Linked DNA regions of Homo sapiens: region 2 is linked to region 1. The links are contacts of gene promoters, found by promoter capture Hi-C in blood cells and fetal thymus (Javierre and others, 2016). All regions are on one chromosome and are shown on one strand. Each heading gives the region's core, a stretch centred on a gene start or on the middle of the fragment in contact. The rest is flanking DNA. Distances are from core to core; before and after follow the strand shown.

Region 1 (3,760 bases), core at 736-3,235:
TCTACACCACACAGCCCAGCTGCTCCACTGTCTACACCACACAGCCCAGCTGCTCCACTGTCTACACCACACAGCCCAGCTGCTCCACTGTCTACACCACACAGCCCAGCTGCTCCACTGTCTACACCACACAGCCCAGCTGCTCCACTGTCTACACCACACAGCCCAGCTGCTCCACTGTCTACACCACACAGCCCAGCTGCTCCACTGTCTACACCACACAGCCCAGCTGCTCCACTGTCTACACCACACAGCCCAGCTGCTCCACTGTCTACACCACACAGCCCAGCTGCTCCACTGTCTACACCACACAGCCCAGCTGCTCCACTGTCTACACCACACAGCCCAGCTGCTCCACTGTCTACTGTCTACACCACACAGCCCAGCTGCTCCACTGTCTACACCACACAGCCCAGCTGCTCCACTGTCTGGTCCTTTGTCTACACCACACAGCCCAGCTGCTCCACTGTCTACACCACACAGCCCAGCTGCTCCACCGTCTGTCTACACCACACAGCCCAGCTGCTCCACTGTCTAGGTCTGCGTCAGCGCACTCTGCTTCCACAATGATGAAAGTACCTAACAATGAACTTCTCCAAAGTATCCCTGTTAAGTGATGCGGGCCGAACGTTAAATTATCATCTGTAGATGATCTCTTATAGTATCTAAAACATGTAAATCCTACATAAATAGTTGTGCTGTATTGTTTACAGAATAAGTCTGTATATGTTCAGTACAGATGAAATTTTTTTCCAAATATTTTATAATGTGCAGTTGGTTAAATCCATGGATATGGACCCCAAGGATACAGTAGGCCAACTGTATATTAGGTGATCACTAAGATAGGTTTCGTTACTACATAATTACTAGACTTTTTGACATGACTTTTTTTCCGGGGGGATGGGGCTGGGTCTTGCTATGTCTGTCGCCCAAGCTGGAGTGCAGTGGCGCGATCTCGGCTCACTGCAGCCTTCGACTCCGCCTCCCAAAGTGCTGGGATTAAAGGCGTGCACCACCGCCCAGCTGTAATGACAATTGCTCTTTCAGGATTTTCAGAATTCAGATTTTAAAGCTAAGCTGCATAATCACAAGATAAAATGAATACGTCTATTTATGCGTTTAAAGAATACCATGTAGTAGACGCGGGAACACATCATCCAACCCAAGAAAAAGGTCTAGTTCCATCTATGCGATGCTCCCCATCTCTTCTCCTGCTCCATTCCCAGGAGAAGCGCCTTGAGTGTGTTGCTGTCACCCTCTTGCACGGACGCAGGTGTATGCACCCGCGTCACACGCGTGGACTCGGCACGGGGAGGCCGGTGTCGTCACGCTCGTGTTTCTGACGATGCTGTCTACGCTTGTTTCTGAATTCTCTAAGGGGAGACTCGCAACTCTTAGTCTCCTGCGACTCGGTTTCCAGTTCCACGAGTTCCTAAACCTCAGGTGACTGTGCGCAGACGACGATCTTTTCCGCTGACAAAGAATGGCAACGTCTCTGACGCCCCGACTCACGCCTCCGCCTTCCACGGGGCGCGGGCGCCCACCACAGCCCGGGAAGGCCCGGCCTCCCTCCAGTTCGGGAGACCAACGCCGCCACCCCCAGCTGTCCAGGCCTCCGCGCCGAGACCTCACGGGTGGCTCAGACCTCGGGCCTCCTCCCCGCCCCGTCCCGCAGCTCCCCGATGCCGCCCTGCCCCTGTCTCCCGAACTCCGCCGCCCGTCCACAGTACCTGATCAGCCTCCGGCCACAGACAACCGCCGGTCCCGGATGGCGCCCGCTTTGAGCACAGTCTGCGGCGCGCACCGCCCACTGGCCCCGCCCCCGGGCCGCGCAGCCAATCGCTCGCGCCAGCGCCAGTCCACGCCACATCGCCCGGCCAATTGGCGCCCGTACGCGCTTGACGACACAATCTCGCCAAGCTTCGCCTGGTGGTGCCACCTCCCTGGCCTGTGACAACGGCAGACGCGCGAAGCACCGGGAACCTGAGCCGTGACCGCGGGCTCTGGCGCCTTTAAGGGGGTCAACACGCCCCACCCCCAGTTCCGCAGAGGCAGCGTCCCGCGACTGGGCGGTGCCCGAGACCACAGACGCCGCCAGCCAATCACGCTTTCGATCCTGCCGTGCGAGCCCGAGGCGCTGCGAACGGTGCCTAACGTCAGACGTCTCGAGGCTCGCGTTCCATGGAGGAAGCCCTCCCAATCCGAAAGCGCCCGGGCGCCAAGCCCTGCAGCCGGAAGCTCGGCGTCCCATGGGAGCGACCTCCGCATGGCTGGACCAATGGAAACGGAGGAAAGGCGGGACGTCACTGCTGACTGGCTGGTTGGGCACTCCCCCCCCTCCCCCCCCCCGAGTTCCGCCGCTGGGACTACAGCGTTTGGCTGCACGGGGAGTTCTCGTATGTCTAGAACGATGGCCTTTCTGCGGTGTCTGCGACCGGGACCAAGGCGGAGCAAAGTCGCCGGGGGTGTGGGGTGTTCCACGCTATGTTGGGAGTGTTCGCTTTCGAGGTACATGACTACGTTCTAAATTTTTTTTTTTTGAGACAGTTTCATTCTTGTTGCCCAGGCTTGAGTGCAATGGTGCAGTCTCCGCTCACAGCAACCTCCGCCGCCCGGGTTCAGGCAATTGTCCCGTCTCAGCCTCCCAAGTAGCTGGAATTACAGGCATGCGCCACCACGCCCGGCTTATTTCGTATTTTTAGTAGAGACGGGTTTCCGCATGTTGGTCAGGCTGGTCTGGAACTCCTGACCTCAAGTGATCCACCTGGCTCAGCTTACCGAAGTGCTGAGATTCCGGGTGTGAGCCACCGCGCCTAGCCCTCTAAACTTTTAAATAATCGTGAAATGTATGCGCAGCTGAAGCGAATTCAGCTATTTCCTCTACCTTTTGTGTGGAATTTAAAATACTGAACTTGTGAGATGAACCTGGTGGGCACCAGTTCTCAAACTTCTTGGTCACAGGACGCTTGCACTCTCTTAAAATGTACTGAGGACACCTAAAAGCTTTTGCTCACTGTTGTTTACTACTGCTATTTACTAACATAGAAATTAAACATATTAAAATATTCACTTAAAAAACACACGACACTAACATAAGTTATATTTTTATTAAAAATCTTTTCCAGACAAAAAACAGACTTTGATTTTGTTTTATGTGTTGACAGATCTCTTTCATGTCTGGCTTCACACAGATAAGAAAATCTGGCCTCCCGCATGCGCAGCAAGTCCTCACTGCTGTCAGTGCGTTCTTGGGAATCAGGACTTTTAAGTGAAACAACGTATAGCAAAACCAATTTTACCAGAGGCTAAAAAATAAGGATTAAGTTCCTAAAGCATACTTCTGGCCAAGGAAAAAAAAAATCACTAAGCTTCTAAAGGCCAAAGTATTCTAATATTAAACATTGAAATAAATGTGAGCTATACATACATTTAAGAAAGATGAATAAAAAGATAATTATTACTTAATTATTCCAGTTCTGGGTCATGTGTAGCTGAAGCCTGTTTCAGTAGCTCAGGGCACAAAGAGGGAACCAGCCCTGGACAGGACGCCATTCCATCACAGGGCCACTCACACACCCACACTCAGACTGGGACAGTGAAGACACACCAGTTCACCTCACGTGCACACCTCTGGGATGTGGCAAGAACTGCAGCACCCAGAGAAAACCTATGCAGGTGTGGCGAGAACACGTAAACACCACAAAGACAGTGCCCCTGGCTGGGAGTCTTTTTCTCATCAATGTTACAAAGAAATGAATGA
Region 2 (3,261 bases), core at 700-3,199, about 24 Mb after region 1:
TATTTCAGTTCCCCAAAAAGACGGTAAACTCTGAGGCGTGGGAGATCAAAAGCCAGGCAGTTGTCAGAATCTTGCCAGTGTAAATTGACTTTAACCTAACAGAAATGATTCTTTTGGCATCACATTTGGGTGCCTCTATTTCCTCTAATCATAAATCTTTCTTCTACTCATTTCTTCATAGTAAAACCAAGAAGTCTGTGCTATCACTCCAACAGCACCAAGAACAGATATACTAGTGCAATATTATACACATAATAGGGGCTCCATTAATGCTTGCCAAATGAATAAAGACTGTTCCTATAAATTTTTTTTGAAAAAAAAAATCGTCTAGATGCAGTAAAGCTTTTTAATTTGCCAAAGAACAGAATACCTACCTAATAAAATAACTCTCAAATTCAATATTCTATAGAAATACAATCTACCAATCTGTTATAGAGGAGTTTTATCTCATGTAATATGCAGGAATTTGAAACCAAAAGTTGGTGCAACAATAGAAAATTTGAAAATAAATTCTGCAACTGTGCCATAACTTACTTTACATTCCTCTTTCCAGTCTCTAGATGTTGATATGCTAATGGAGATGTAATACAGTTACTGCTCTAATTTAAACCAGATACTTAAAATTGAAGAAGCTGCCTACTTGTTGAAGCTATTACCCTAATACTAGTAAAAATAATTGACCATTAGATCTAAAAGGGGCCTTGGATATTATCTGGTACATTTATCTCACAGATCAGTAAACAAATGAAACTTTATTCTAAAGTTCACAAAGACAATTAATTGCTAGGCCCGATTTTTAGTCCAGTCCTTTTCAAATGTGGTTTTGACTTGCATACGGACAAGGATGATGGTAAAAGACAGGAAACATTTCAAGTCCTAGGAGAAATGAGATTTTCTCCACTACTTTCTTTGCTCCCCACAGATTTAAGTAAGTTCTAAGAAGTCCCTACAGATGGGAGTAACTGAAGTGCTTCCTTTGCACGTTTTTGAGATTTGGAGAATTTAAGAGGTTCTAAGACCTATGTAAAATTTCAACTCAATTACATATTTTTTGGTTCATTATCTATCCACCAATTCTTCCTTCCATTTAAACCATTAGATCTGAAAAAGTCCTTAGAAACTGCCTAATAGTGGTAGATATTTCGTTTCACTGATCAAAAACCTGAGGCTCAAAAGCAAATGTAAATTTATATTTCATAAAAATCTTGGGGGAAAAGTCCTATCCTATCCCATTAGAGAGGGAGTAGTGCAGTTAGAAATACAACACCGAACTCCTGAAACCAAACATCAAGTATCCTTAAACAAGATAATAGAATTGTGATTTTTTTCTTTTCAACATGAAACTTCATACTATGCTGTATATCACATATAATTAAATTACACAATAATCACATACCGTATTAATAAGAGGTTAAGTGTAATATAATAAAATGGTCATCTCACAGCGCCAGACTGCCCTCTCTGTAAAACTGTGAGATGCTGAATACCTAGATATTTCGACCTTTTCTCTAACAAGTTATCCTCCAAGGCTACTTCATCGAGGCAAAAATACATTTTATTTATTATTAAAAATTCCAGTATATGTATGCTTAATTAATACTGAGTATTCCCCATTCTTGTTTCAAGTGATAGTCTTTGCTTATCCACATACCTAGGAGGCTGGGGAGGCTCCTTCAAGTCACTGGGTATGAGGTTATAAATGCACTCAGAAGAGCACGTTGGATCCATGGCCACCAAATGACTCCTTAAAAGCTACTCTCCACAACTTTTTTCTCCCTGTCCCAGTATCTCCGTCCCTTTCTTCACTGCTTCCCCTTTCTTTCTTCTTCGCCTTCTGAAGGACCACAGGTTCTCTCCTTCACATCGTCCCCCTTTAACCCCCTCTTAGCAGTCCTCTCTCGGGAAGAAAACACCCTATTTCTCTCCGGATTGCTAAGCGTCGTTGACTGTGCGGTTGCCGTGGAAACCGTTACTAGGCAACGAGGAAGTGGCAGGCAGCACCGCAAACTAGGTCTCCCCTCTTCCCTCTTTCTGCAGCGCCTTCTGCTAGAGAAGCTCATTTGGAAGCCACTGTTTTTACGTGCCTTTGAAAGTTAACGGGGTGAAAATGATGTCCCCTTAAAAACTGTGCTCTTTTCTATTTCTGTGTATCTGGGGAAAAAAGAAAAATCCTAGTAGAGACGGCAAAGCGCAGCTGGTGCGCAGGCGTCACCCAATAAGGTTTTTGTGAGCAGGCCCCAATCGCGGTGTGGGCGGAGCGAGCGGCTGAGACCACGAGGACGCAAGGCCAGCGCCGCCAGGGAGACGAGGGAGGGGAGGAGCCTGAGGAGATCGGAGTGCTCGGATAGGCTACAGTGAGAAAGGAGAGTCACGTGCCCTGCGCGAGGCCGCTCGGGGAAGGGCGTGGAGCGGAGGCACGCTGGCCGCCGCAGGCACAGGCGCAGAGTCCACTGCGCGGGGGCGGGACCGGGGAGCTAGCTGCAGGTACGGTGCTCCGTCTCCTGTGGAGGCTTTAGCGGCTCGTGGACACTGCTCCCCCATTTCCTTTCATTTCCCCCGTCTTCTCAGTGAGATTTCCTTGGTGAGTTATTGGAGGAGAAAGGAAGGAAAACTAGAAGCCAGCCCGCTCCCATCGCATGCCTTTCCCCGTACCGTCCCTTCCCCTTTCCGCTACTCGCTGGTCATCTCAACTCTGCGCGCATTTTTCCTGCTGCTTCTGGTCGAGGCTCCTCGGAACGCCGCGCAGCCCTGCCCGCCACGTGTGTGAGTGCGCGCACGGGGCCCGCGGCCTCCTCCGCCTGCTGCGCTCGCCCTCCCGCCCCTGCTCCCGGGACCGCCCCTTGGGCGGTCCTCCGGGTCGGCTCTGCGCCTGCTCTTCCCCGGGTCGGGACTCTTCCTCTAGGTCGTTCTCCAGGAACCAGTGGACCTGCTCTTTGTAAATGAGCAGCCTAAACTAAGAGGAGAAGCCTTTTAAGTGGGCCTTTACGTTTTTGTCCAGTTTTTGGTGTCCCTTGTTGGAAAATTGTCTTCTGAGAAGCGGTTTTATTCCTTTTTGTTCCACCTGGTCACCCGTAAATCTATGCACATGGGCCTGCCGTAGGAAAGTCATTTAGACGCTTTTACCCGAGTGTTTAAAAGACATTTTGGTAATAGGATTTGGGGAGGAAGATGGATGCCTCTGAACCACCGGTACAGAGGCCACTCTGCCCGAAGGAAATAAAGCTTCCCGGAGAGGAGAGAAAACACACTTGAGTCTGGGTT

What was found. Contacts are between HindIII fragments. The CHiCAGO score rates a contact against its expected background, and 5 or more counts as called.
Region 2: the fragment with the promoter of ENKUR here is called in contact with the fragment with the promoter of IDI1 in region 1 in 1 of 17 cell types (fetal thymus); the score reaches 13.3 in fetal thymus.

What each region holds. Positions count from the first base shown.
Region 1 is chr10:1,047,134-1,050,893 of GRCh38, forward strand. It overlaps IDI1 (isopentenyl-diphosphate delta isomerase 1), which reads right to left and starts at 1,986. Exons shown (of 5, transcript NM_004508.4): 1 at 1,731-1,986. The coding sequence starts at 1,870. RefSeq lists enhancers at 1,233-1,763, 1,764-2,293, 1,985-2,034, 2,294-2,823, 2,495-2,634 and silencers at 1,575-1,664, 1,675-1,894. The HindIII fragment of the contact is 1,083 bases long and covers 1,919-3,001 here.
Region 2 is chr10:25,014,209-25,017,469 of GRCh38, forward strand. ENKUR (enkurin, TRPC channel interacting protein) reads right to left here and starts at 1,950. Exons shown (of 6, transcript NM_145010.4): 1 at 1,652-1,950. The coding sequence starts at 1,728. It overlaps THNSL1 (threonine synthase like 1), which reads left to right and starts at 2,404. Exons shown (of 3, transcript NM_024838.5): 1 at 2,404-2,484. RefSeq lists silencers at 1,956-2,005, 2,336-2,535, 2,716-2,795 and enhancers at 2,079-2,841, 2,152-2,446, 3,046-3,125. The HindIII fragment of the contact is 2,880 bases long and covers 341-3,220 here.